3 separate regions of the Homo sapiens genome follow, and all the other regions are linked to region 1. The links are contacts of gene promoters, found by promoter capture Hi-C in blood cells and fetal thymus (Javierre and others, 2016). All regions are on one chromosome and are shown on one strand. Each heading gives the region's core, a stretch centred on a gene start or on the middle of the fragment in contact. The rest is flanking DNA. Distances are from core to core; before and after follow the strand shown.

Region 1 (4,306 bases), core at 652-3,151:
ATCGAAAAGCCTAATCTTTCCTGCTTCTTCTCCAGAAGCATTCTAACATAACCTCTAATAATGAACATTATGTTTGGTATATGCTGTGTCTAATCTTCTCTCACGATGACATAACTTGCTCTTCAGACCTCCAACAATCAGCCCAAACCAAACTCCTGAATTTTTCCTCCCTCCTCGTCTGTCCCAGCCCCTCGGTTGCTTGTCAGTAGACTCAATTACCACCATCTTCTGATCTGAATCAATTTGTTAATCTCCTTCCTCTCAGGCACAGTGCCTTTTACTGGAGATAAACATGCAAGCAAGTTCAGTTCACCCAGAGCCCTCCACATCCTCTCCCTCCAAGCCTTCACACTCCCAAAGGGGCCCAGAAAAAAAAGAAAGAAATGATATGGCAAAATCCCACTCTATCCACATCACCTCAGGGGGCTTGTTTACCATAACTTTAGACCAACTACCATTTTTGGGGAGAATCTGAAAGAATATTGTTTATGGGCTAGGTAAGAGCTAACAGAAATGGCAGTTTCATTCTTCCAATATGAGACAAGCGTCTCTGTGTGACCCAGCCCTAAAACTCACAAACCTAGACTCCTCAAACTCCCCATACTCCAGAGTTCAAGGATAACCTGCCCTCCATTTTTCCTTATTGTTTTCCATATAAAAGTCACTCGTTGTTTCCCCTCCAGCTTACACCTGGCTCCTGAAATGACTCCTCTGAATCCTCTGAGAATCCTCAAAACATGTAAAAGCCTCATTCCTTTTAATGCATGTGCAGAGCGGTGATGGTGTGAAGACGCTGGCACTTCAAACGTGAACGTGGCACGAGCCCTGCCCTCAAGGAGCCCACAATTTTCCCTCAACTCTAAAAAAGGATGTCCTCCCTGGACAGTGTCTGTAAAACACAGTGACAAAGTACTTCATAGCTCTGGAGAAAGAGCGAGGGTGGAAACAGACTTTGCCCTTACATTTGACGCCCAGTAACCATAACAACCGATGGTTTAAGTAACTATCAACCCACTGAGGGGCTAAGTTTTCCAAAAATCGTTTTCAAAAGGGGAAGACTCCCCTGCACCAACTCCCATGGCAGCCGTACGCTCTAGGCAGCGTGTGGTGCAATGTGGCCAGCCGTTCCCCGCCTTCTCCGGTTCCACCGTATGGTTTCCGTGCTCAGCAGCCAGCAGCGACGGCGTCCACGGCCACACCGCCTCCCCGCAAGGCACCTGGCGCTAGGCCTCAGCCCAATGTCACTTGTTAACCTTCCGATCCCCCGGATTTCGGCACGCCGCCGCCTCCCTGCTAAAGCACACAAACCACCCCACCGCCACCCGCGTTCTCCAGGAGTTGGAGAAAAACCACCGGGGCGCATACAACCTCTGACAGATTCGAGTAAAAGTAACTGCGGTTCTCGACTTTCAAGCATTTCGCGTCGCCGGTGAGGGGGGCGGCAGGAACCCGGGGCCCCATTCATAAAATTGCAAGCCGTTTTCCTCTAGTTTGCGCGTGACGGTGCCTCCCTGCCCGGGGCCGGGGACCGCAGGCTGAGGGGACGGGGCCGGCAGCTCCTCCCGCCGGAGTCGAGCCCGAGCCATCCGGCGGGGCCCCGAAGGAAGGGATTGCCCGGGGGTGTCGCGGGTGGGCGTCCCCTTCAATACCTGAACCATGACAGCGGGGTGGGGGGCCGAGCCCCGCCACGCCAAGGGCCGCCGGACCCGACCGGTACTTTGAAGCCCGCGGGGTCGATCCGCGCCCAGCCCGGGCCTTATCCGCGGGGCGCTCCCTCCACCGCCCCCGCCTGGCCCTGAGACTGCTCACCCAAGATCCGCTGGCTGCCTCATTGTACTATGCCGGCGCCCGTGCTCCCGGCCGCGCGACTCCGGCTTCGGCTGGGGCACCGGCCGCGGTCCTGCTGCCCTGCCGCCCGCCCGCCCCCGGGCACACGCCGCCCCGCCCCGCCGGCGGACCCGCCCCGCGCCCGCGGCCGCCGCCGCCAACCAGAGGGCGCGGGGGCGGAGCAAACGGCACGCCAGGCCCAACCAATCCAGTTCTACCGCGCGCCGAGGTGAGGCCGCGGAAATGGGGGAGCGATTTGTCAGGTCTGTTAAAGGGGCCACCGCCCTTGGAGCTAGGGAGAGGAGTGGTGGGGAGGGTTACCTGGAAGAGCCCCAGGTGAGGGGGACAAAAGCTTCACTCTCCCAACGGGGCTGCACACTGTCCCCAGCTCTTTGCACTTCTTAATTTCCTCTTCCTGCAGTCTAGCAGCAACAAGTGCCCTTGAGACGAGGGCTGGGGGTTGAGGTGGGGTGACTGAGGCGCGGAGAACCAGGGGTATCCCCCTGGGCAAATTCACTCGATTTGCATTTTAGAGGGCCATCAGACGTATCTATCCCCATCCAACTGCAGACATTGATTTAAAAAGGCAAATTCCCAGTTTCCCGCATTATGTACTTCCCCCACCTGACTACCACACTACCACATCCTATCCTGAACTAACTCTGTTACTAGTTTTTTTGTTTGAGACGGAGTCTCGCTCTGTCGCCAGGCTGGAGTGCAGTGCCGTCATCTGGGCTCACTGCAACCTCCGCCTCCTGGGTTAAAGCGATTCTCCTGCCTCAGCCTTCCGAGTAGCTGGGATTACAGGCGCGTGCCACCATGCCCAGCTAATTTTTGTATTTTTAGTAGAGACGGGGTTTCACCATGTTGGCCAGGATGGTCTCGGTCTCTTGACCTCGTGATCCGCCGGACCCAGCCTCCCAAAGTACTGGGATTACAGGCGTGAGCCACCGCGCCTGGCCACGAGTTCTTAGAGCTTAGAACTTATATAGTATTAACTACTCATTTTTAGAGAGGCAATATCTGAGGCTCAGAGAGGTAAAGTGACTTCTCGAGGTAAATTCTCACTTAGAATGAGCTTCCTGGGATGGCAATGCCCATTGTGCATTTATCTTCTGCGAACCTGGGTTGGCTGGCAGAAGCACTGGCACATAGGGAGAGTTCCCCCTTCCCCCGTAGTCCTTGCCCCTCTGCACTTCCCACCCACCACAAGAAAGGACCAAGACAACAAACAGATGTGTCAGTGTGTCTCCTGCATTAGTGGGTCCCAAATGTCAGATCTTCAACGTCAGATCATCCTGGAGGGTTTTAACATGAAGATCTCTAAGTCCCACCCCAGAACCTGTAATTCAGTAAGTCTGAGATGGCCTTCGACACCCCTCCCTCCAGGTGATTCTAATGCAAGTGGTACAAGGACCACACTCAGGTGCGTGTTTTGAGTCTATCATAGTCATGAAATTCAAATTCAATTGGCAAAATGAAAGCCAAACTCCTTTCATCCTCAGAATTAGTAATATGGTTGGGAGACTTGCTAGTAAGGGAGGAGGTCACCTACTAAGACACTCATAACAGAATAAGTCATGCCAAGAACTGAGTGTAGAAGGGCACTGGACCCAGATGAAACAACATCTGAAAGATTGAAATCCTCAAGCAGGAAGAAGATTTGATGCCTCAAGCAGAGGGAAGCCAGGCTAGTTCTCTGACCCGTGAGACAGTGCATAAATATCTTAATGGCAGACACACTCCGGCTCACCACCAGGCCCAGTCATGATCCCAGAAGAATGCCCTGCTACTCTGGTGCCTCATTCCAATGCCAGCAAGCCCTGCCTACCCTCCTGGCAACATTCCTCTCCCCTTCCTAGTATCCCAGACACCTGCCTGACCCAGAAGTCATTGTCCTCAGACTTGGAGGTCAGCCCTCGCCCACTAGATCTTGCAGGTCAGCTGCCTCCCACACAGATCTCAGGCTCTTGGAATGGCCTCCACACAATAACCCTGTTTGTGCTGTGATTTCTGATGGATGTTGTGTTGCCAGGGACAACTCTGCACAAGGATTGATCAGCCTCATGAGAATGCAGTCTCTGGGCTGCAGGCATTACTGCCTGGGATCACCACTTGCTTCTGTTGCCCTTCCCAAAGGAAAAAGAATTCATGTCCCAACAGAAGAGGTTTCCAGTTGTGGTTTTCTGGAAATGTGCAACAAAGGCAGTTACCAATGGAGACACAGCCTGAAGCTCTCCTTGGCCACATCTTCAGCCCCCTGCCTCAGGGAGAGAGAGAGAGAAAGGGTAGGGGCCCTGGAGCTGCCCCTTGCAAAGGTCCTTGGAAGCTGGCAATGTGCCTCTCAGAGTGCCCACCAACCTCCTTTCCCTACCAAGCTCCACGTAAGCATTAAATTAATTAATACACTACCAACCAGATCTCAAACTAGAAGCCAGTAAGATCCAGCATGAACACTTAGAAGGATCCCTTCTTTTTG
Region 2 (4,306 bases), core at 496-2,995, 190 kb before region 1:
GCAAAACCTTAAAAGTCTGGCCTGCACTTGAGACCCAGAAATACACATAAAGCTCCTCGAGGCATGAATAGGCAATAAGCACTTTCAGTTCCTCAAAAAGAAAGCTGCTGTATAAATACGGGCTATTATTGCTACTATGATTTCAAGATAAATACAGCTCTCCTTTGTGTTGCAAATGCTTTTTTATTGACATTTTGGCAGCAACATAGTAAAAGAAAAGCAGGTGATCTGATGCTTTGAAAGCTGTGACCCCATAGGTATGAAGGCAGTTTATCTAGGCAAGCTATTAAGTGCTGTTCTATCAAACATTCTGATAGCAGGAAATACTAAGAAAGCGCTATAATTAACAGGCAGAGCCTGGCTTTCCTTCCTTGGCTTAGATGATTGTACTCACTTTAAATTTCATCCATTTGCCACTGGGTATGTTGCAATCTTGGAATCTCAGGACTAAGTCAACACAGCAACTAAAAGCTTGTTAAATGAGTAACCATATTAATGATGTCAATTCTTCTCCCAAGTTGGGGGAGCCCTTTCTTAATTGGTCAGCTGATCCTGGGGAGAACAGCACCTGAAGCACAACCCAGGAAAGAAAGGGTTGGCAAGGCGGTGACTGCGCCCTCTCTCTCCGCATGCCACTTTCCCAGATTCCGGGACTTACATCAAAGAGACACAAGTTTCTGGAGACAGGAACTCTTACCCATGTAGAGGATTCCATCTGAACTTCGGCATGGGGATGCCTGCACCAATTCTGGGATGGTAAAAGGAAGTTTCTTTAAAAAAAAAAAAAAAGAAAAAAAAAAGTTAACCAAGTCTTGTGCAATTATTACAATTTTACCAGGCAGTTTGTTTCTATTACCTAATTCTGCTAAAAAGAGAGAAGCACTTTGCAGATGAGAGTTTTCCTAACTGAATACAAAGGAGAAGGGGGCACCCTATGCTTCCACATCTACTGTGTTTTTATTTTCATTTTTTTGAGACAGGGTCTCATTCTGTCGCCCAGGCTGGAGTGCAGTGGCACCATCTTGGCTCACTGCAACCTCTGCCTCCTGGGTTCAAGTGATTCTCTCACCTCAGCCTCCCAAGTAGCTGGGATTACAGGCATGTTGCCACTACACCCAGCTAATTTTCCACATCTATTTTGACAAGCTCCCAGGTCCCTGAGCTCTGTAAACATCCACTCCTTTACTTGACACCATGTGCAGAGGCCCCTCAAGGTCTCCTGTCCAGGGTGCTTCCCAGGGGTGACACAAACCTTTTCTGAAAAGATTTACACAAATATGGAGAGTTATATATTCTTTGAAATGCTAAGAAAGAATTGTCCTGGCTTGGAATACAGAGCCAGAGCTGGCTAGACTGAGTAAAATGACAGTGCTTTGTAGAGCCCCATGGGAGGGAGCCAGGACATTGATGCTGAAGGGATGCAACCTTGGTGCCAAGCTCAAGCTTCGAGGGAAAGGAGAAGTCGCCATTACAGGGGCAACACAAGAGTTTGAGGTGGAAAAGAGTTTTGATGTTTTCTTCAGTAAATAATTCACTATTGAAAAACAAGAAAAATTGAGACTTTTGGTTTTAAAGAGGAAGTTAAGATAGGTGCCAGGAAAAGAAACTCAAAGGAATCCAAATGTTTCAACTGCATTTCATCATAAAACTGATTCTTCTGAGTCTACAGCTGACATCTGACGAGCTCTTTTGGTTAATGCTTGTTTCAGTATACTTTATTTTTAGAACATTCTGTGTTTTTGAAATTGTTCTATAGATACCTGCTTTTATAGAAATGCCTCTACTGCATGGTCACCTTTTTCTCCAAGAAAGAAAAGATTTCTCTCTAGCTTTAATAAGCAGAGCTTTGCATACTAAATAACTTGGATTTTCCCATCATCCCAACATTCAAACCAAGCCTCAGAGGAGGAAAAATGCTTCAGAGAGGCTGCAATGACTGGGTTTTGCCATGTGTTTCTGAGAATCAGAAAGGCACTGCAGATCTTCTAGTCTTCTGGAGTCCTGTGGTCTCTGCTGAGCACTGCCACTGGTGCCCTGATTCAAGGCCCAAGCTTGGGAAACATTGTTTCTGGAGCTGCTAAACCACAACCCAGAAAGGAGCACAAGGGAGTGATGAAGGGCATCCTCTTTTTTTTTTTTTTTGAGACGGAGTCTCACTCTCACCCAGGCTGAAGTGCAGTGGCGTGATCTCGGCTCACTGCAAGCTCCGCCTCCCGGGTTGATGCCATTCTCCTGCCTCAGCCTCCCAAGTAGCTGGGACTACAGGCGCCCGCCACTGCGCCTGGCTAATTTTTTGTATTTTTTAGTAGAGACGGGGTTTCACCGTGTTAGCCAGGATGGTCTCGATCTCCTGACCTTGTGATCCGCCCGCCTCGGCCTCCCAAAGTGCTGGGATTACAGGCCCGGCTGGGCATCCTCTTTAAGAACCAACTCCAACACTAGAAGACTCAGCCCTGGACATATTCCTTCACTTCTCCAGGCTGTTTCCACACCTCTAAAACGGGGATATCACCCACAGGGCTGCTGAGAGATTCCAATGAGATAACTTATACAACTCACTCACCCCAGTTTCTGGCAAACAAATTGCTTAAGAAATGGGGACTACAGAGCTGTGGAGAGAAACCAACGGAGAGCAGTGTTGAAGGTGAAATACACACAGCTCTATACAAACTTGCCCTCCTCCCCTCTGTTTTGGTCACAGGCATTCACAAAATAATTTTAAAACACCCAAGTTAAAGTCCACAATCCACTTACAGCCTAGATCAGTGGTTCTCATCCTTGGTTGCCCATGAGAATTACTTGGAAGCTTTAAAAACTTCCTACTGATGCATAATACGCAAACAGAAAAGCACTCATCATCACACAGCTCAGTCAAGTTTCACAAAGTGAACATACCCACGTAACCGGCATCCAGGTGAAGAAACAGAAGCCCCCCTCCTCTCTTGCCCCCCTTTCTAGCCATAACTCTCCAGGGGTAACTATTATCCTAACTTCAAAACAGCAGAGACTCGTTTTTCCTGTTTTTGGCTTTACATAAGTGAATGGCAGCGTGTGGCCTTTTTTGTCTGTCATGTTTTGCTCAACATCACGCTTGTGAGTCATCCGCGGCGTGTGTCGTCATAGACTGTTGGTCCTCATCACCGTGCATGCCGCTTCCAGAGTTTATTTTTCCACTCCACTGTGGATGTTATTTGGCCACCCTCTGCTTATTATAAATGGTGCTGCTGTACATTTGGGCACATGTCCATTGGTGAACAAAAGTGCATTTCTTCTTTTTTTTTTTTTTGAGATGGAGTCTCGCTCTGTTGCCCAGGCTGGAGTGTAGTGGCGTGATCTCAGCTCACTGCAAGCTCCACCTCCCGGGTTCACGCCATTTTCCTGCCTCAGCCTCCCAAGTAGCTGGGACTATAGGCGCCCGCCACCGCACCTGGCTAATTTTTTGTATTTTTAGTAGAGACGGGGTTTCACCATGGTCTCGATCTCCTGACCTCGTGATCCGCCCACCTTGGCCTCCCAAAGTGCTGGGATTACAGGCATGAGCCACCGCACCCAGCCACAAATGTGCATTTCTGTTGGGTCTGTAACCTAGGAGGGCATTACTGGGTCCTAAGGACTTTAGCACTTACTGCCAACAGTTTTCCAAATCACTTGTGCCACCCTGCACTTCCGCCAGCAGTAGGTGAGAGTCCTGGTTGCTCCACATCACCAACATGTTTTCTTTTTCTACTTTCCTTGTTTTGGCCATTCTGGTGAGTAGCAGTATGGCACTGTGGCTTTAATTTGCATTTCCAAATGACTAATAAAATGGAACATCTTTTCATATGTTTATGACCATTTGGATATTCTCTTCTGTTATTCTTCCATTGGGCTGTCTTTTTTTAACGTACCATAGGATTTCTTCATATATTCTGAATATGAACTTTTGTTGGATGTGTATACTACAAATACTTTGTGGCCTCTTAATGAGGAAAAGTTCTTAATTTTAATATAATCAATATATTGATTTTTTCCTAAATTTATAGTGTTCTTTAATATCCTACTTAATAAATCTCTACTTACTCTAAGATCATGAAGATGGTTCCATTACTTTTTTTCTTAAAGCTTTATTATTTTGCATTTCACATTTAGATGTGTGATCTATCTGGAACTGATTTTATATGTGTTGTAGGGGGGTAGGAGTCAATACTTTTATTCCTATATGGATATCCCAATTGACCTACACCACTTATTGCAAAAACACTGTAAGCTGGGTGGTGGTGGCTCACGTCTGTAATCCCAGCACTTTGGGAGGCTGAGGTGGGTGGAT
Region 3 (4,306 bases), core at 1,153-3,652, 160 kb before region 1:
AATGAGGAAAAATGCAGATAGAAAAAGGGAAAAAAAGGGCCAGGCGTGGTGACTCATGACTACATGTAATCCCAGCACTTTGGGAGGCCGAGGCAGGCAGATCACTTGAGGTCAGATGTTCGAGACCAGCCTGGCCAACATGGCGAAACCTCGTCTCTACTAAAAATACAAAAATTAGCCGGGCGTGGTGGTGGGTGCCTGTAATCCCAGCTACTAGAGACGCTGAGGCAGAAGAAATCACTTGAACCCAGGAGGTGGAGGTTGCAGTGAGCTGAGATCACGCCACTGTACGCCAGCCTGGGGGATAGAGCGAGGCTCTGTCTCCAAAAAAAAAAGAAAGGGAAAACAATACTGCAAAATTATAGCAATATTTCTTCTTTTCTCATTTTTTAAACTTCCAATAATATGATTTGCTAATCTGTAGATTAGCAAATTTTTCACAAAGTAGAAGTTTTCACAAAGTAGAAAGGAGATGGACAAGCTAGCAGGTAGGAGAGAAGCTTGAATTCGAAGGAGCTTCAGCAAGTGCCTAAGTTCCACATGAAGCACTTTCCACCTCAGGATAGTAGGCAAGTCAACCACCTTTGATCATTAATCTCCACCAAACAAGGGACCAGAGTTTAGAAACACAGGGGTCTCCCAATAAGAATGTATGCATCCAAGAATAAGAAGAGTTTGCTGTTATTAAAGCCTACAGTACAACCATAATGAACTAAGTGCCCCCAAGTATATCTTATCACAGTATTAATATTAAAAAGGGTTAATATTCACCAAAACATATCAGTGCTCCTTTGCTACTAGTGGAAGCACTAGTGGAAACAAAAGCCACCTGCCTTGTCTGAGCATCTTGGAAGCCACTGGAAGAGCAACATTCTACAATTGGTTTATGGATCAAAATAAAACACTAATCATGGCCGGGACCGGTGGCTCATGCCTGTAATCTCAGCACTTTGGGAGGCCGAGGTGGGTGGATCACCTGAGGTCAGAAGTTTGAGACCAGCCTAGTCAACATGGTGAAACCCCGTCTGTACTAAAAAAAAATACTAAAAAATCAGCCAGGCCTGGTGGCAGACACCTGCAATCCCAGCTACTTGGGAGGCTGAAGCAGGAGAATTGCTTGAACCCGGGAGGCAGAGGTTGCAGTGAGCTAAGATCATACCATTGCACTCCAGCCTAGGCAACAGAGCAAGACTCTGTCTCAAAAACAAAAACAACAACAACACTAATCACATGACTAATTTAGTCTTGGAAAAATCTCAAAAATACAAAGTTTAGAGAGAAGCTGAATTTGGCAACTGAGAATTCTGTCAATCACAATGTCTACAGAAATGCCACAAACTATTACAACTGGCAGGTTCTTCTCAAGGCTCTCAACTGTACCAAATCGAAACTCCTGGGAGCCACTCGGAACAGTGTTATTCTCTCATAAGGCAAACAAAAATGACAAATTTTCTGGCTTTTTCCCCTCTGGCATTTTTAAAAGCATGAACATGCCTGAGTTCAAATGTAGTTGCTATAGCTAACATGAATTAAACATGTTTCCAGATGCCTTGTGTGATACTGAGCACAGCTGAGAACTATTTGTACCTGAACACTGAAAAACGCTGCTTCACAAAGATGAACTTGTGCCTTGTCTTTGCCCAGCCATTTCAGTCCTCAGTGCTCACTTTTCTCTACAAGCAACATACCCTACGGCACACACACTGGTTTCCAGAGAGCCTGAAAATGGAAAGAAAATGTCGAGTCTGCAGATCTGTTTCAAGTTAACAACCATTTGAAATTTGATTCAGTTTTAAAACTAGTAGTTGGGAGGTTAAAAAAAAAAAGTGGAATATATACTCCTGGCTTTGATGGTGACTTGTAGGAAGTAACCAACAGTAACTGTGGAGGGTGGGAAGGGTAGTGGCAGGCATCTAGTCTAGCCTAAAACTAAACATCCATTAGCTAATTGGTCCCCACAGACATCAGACTCTGTCCAGCATGTGTCACTCAGTGGGCTTCAGCAGTATAAGGGTCCTCACTGCAGCCCTACTCAGCTGGACTGCAGCAAGTCTCCCTCCTATGAAAGCCAACACAAGACCAGCACTGGATCCTGATGTTCAATGTTCTGATCATAAAGCAATGTTACGGCTGGACGTGGTGACTCACACCTGTAATCCCAGCACCTTTGGGAGGCCGAGGTGGGCGGATCACTTGAGGTCAGGAATTCAAGACCAGCCTGGCCAACATGGTGAAACCCTGTCTCTACTAAAAACACAAAAATTAGCTGGATGTGGTGGCAGTCACCTGTAATCCCAGCTACTTGGGAGGCTGAGGCAGGAGAATCGCTTGAACCCAGGAGGCGGAGGCTGCAGTGAGCCGAGATCACGCCACTGCACTCCAGGCTGGGCAACAGAGTAAGACTCCATCTCAAAAAAAAAAAAAAAAAAGCAATGTTACACAAAATCCAGCAGCTTCCCCATTCATAAAATCCACCATTCACTCTGCATTTACTACAAAGATACAGAAGTGGCTATCAACTGCTTATGCAGAGATGATTGAAAGGTACATCACCAACAATTTAATCATTCCCTAATATTGTGAATTCAGCTAATTGTTAGGGCTCTTCCATTAATTAACTACTTATATATATTTCAGGTAAGAAAAAAATATTTTCTTAAATGCCTTCTGAAATAACTTCATTTAGAAAAAGTTTTCAGTAAAGAGAATTATGGACACAGGGGCAGACAGGTGTTCAAACAGCACAAAAACAAATGAAATGGCCTCTAACAAAAAACCACCAGTTTCTAAACTTGCATTTGGGACTGACTGGTCAGGCAGGGAGGCAAGCTCATCAGTGGCTAGAGAACAACCAGCAAAAAAACCACAGCTTCCTGGGCATGGTGACTCACGCCTGTAATTCCAATACTTTGGGAGGCCCAGGCAGGAGGATTGCTTGAACCCAGGAGTTTCAGGCCAGCCTGTGCAATATAGGGAGACCCCATCTTGACAAAAAAAAAAAAATTAATTTGCCAGGTGTTGTGGTTTATGTATGTAGTCCCAGCTACTCAGGAAGCCAAGGAGGGAGGATTGCTTGAGCCTGGGAAGCAAAGGTTGCAGTGAGCCAAGACAGTGCTACTGCACTCTAACCTGAGCAACAGAGCCAGACTCTGTCTCAAAATAAAACAAACAAATAAACAAACAAAAAACACAGGGCTTGATTTCAGCAGCCTTATCACTGAAGTTTTGGTTTGTTTCCACTTACCACTGCCTTGTTGCCCCCTGCAATGGTAAGTACAGCAGGGAAGACCCTGCAAGCTCCTCTGAGATTCAGAACGTGTGAAAGCTGAATGTTCCTTATCAGGGGTTTCAGAAATGTTGCTTTTGCCAAAAAAAAAAATGCAGCTTGTCAATTTCAGACATACATTTCAAGAACTGATTCCCAGGTTGACTACCTGATAACAAGGGTCAGGGCCAGGTGTGGTGGCTAATGCCTGTAATCCCAGCACTTTGGGAGGCCCAGGCAGGTGGATCACCTGAGGTCAGGAGTTCGAGAACAGCCTGGTCAACATAGTGAAACCCTGTCTCTACTAAAAATACAAAAATTAGCCAGGCGTGGTGGTGCACACCTGTAATCCCAGCCACCCAGGAGACTGAGTCAGGAGAATCGCTTGAATCCAGGAGGAAGGGGTTGCAGTGAGCCAAGATCGCACCACTGCACTCCAGCCTGGGTGACAGAGAGAGACTCCATCTCAAAAAAAAAGGGTCAGAAATAAGATCATTAAAATGGCACAGACTTTTCACCTCTAAGTCAATGGCAAGATACAGTGTCATGCACACGTGTTCCATACCCACAGTTTTCCAGTGATCTATACTTAACGAGGTTTATAATCTCTGCTCCATTTACAAAACTGGAGCATCTTATCCCTGCAAAAAAAAAGGCGTGTACACACACACACACACAGAAAACCTACGATTGTGAACAAGAGAGTCACACACTTCTCAGGTGGCATGTAAATGGATCAAGTCCAACCCAACTGTACATCCCTCTCTCTTTTTTCTTCTTTTTTCCTGAGATGAGGTCTTTGTCACCCAGGTGGGAGTGCAGTTGAGCGATCAGAGCTCACTGCAGCCTTGAGGCTCAAGCAATCCTCTCCCCTCAGTCTTCCAAGTAGCTGGGACTACAGGTGTGTGACACCAGCCTGGCCAATTTTTAAATTTTTTGTAGAGTCGGGAGTTTCACTACATTGACCAGTCTGGTCTTGAACTCCTGGCCTCATGCAATCCTTCCACCTCAGCCTCCTGAGTTGCTGAGATTACAGGCATA

Evidence for each region. Contacts are between HindIII fragments. The CHiCAGO score rates a contact against its expected background, and 5 or more counts as called.
Region 2: a contact is called between a fragment that was not itself captured here and the fragment with the promoter of TEX2 in region 1, in 1 of 17 cell types (endothelial precursors). The highest score is 5.0, in endothelial precursors.
Region 3: a contact is called between a fragment that was not itself captured here and the fragment with the promoter of TEX2 in region 1, in 1 of 17 cell types (monocytes). The highest score is 5.8, in monocytes.

What each region holds. Positions count from the first base shown.
Region 1 is chr17:64,261,359-64,265,664 of GRCh38, forward strand. TEX2 (testis expressed 2) reads right to left here and starts at 1,902. Exons shown (of 12, transcript NM_001288732.2): 1 at 1,810-1,902. RefSeq lists a silencer at 1,490-2,099. The HindIII fragment of the contact is 6,481 bases long and covers 1-2,177 here.
Region 2 is chr17:64,074,478-64,078,783 of GRCh38, forward strand. It overlaps ERN1 (endoplasmic reticulum to nucleus signaling 1), which reads right to left. Exons shown (of 22, transcript NM_001433.5): 5 at 698-770. Among named protein-coding and RNA genes, the nearest start is that of ERN1, 54 kb to the right of the region's middle. RefSeq lists an enhancer at 209-288 and a silencer at 472-766. The HindIII fragment of the contact is 608 bases long and covers 1,442-2,049 here.
Region 3 is chr17:64,101,086-64,105,391 of GRCh38, forward strand. All of the region lies in intron 1 of ERN1 (endoplasmic reticulum to nucleus signaling 1), which reads right to left. Among named protein-coding and RNA genes, the nearest start is that of ERN1, 27 kb to the right of the region's middle. RefSeq lists an enhancer at 2,990-3,039. The HindIII fragment of the contact is 3,808 bases long and covers 499-4,306 here.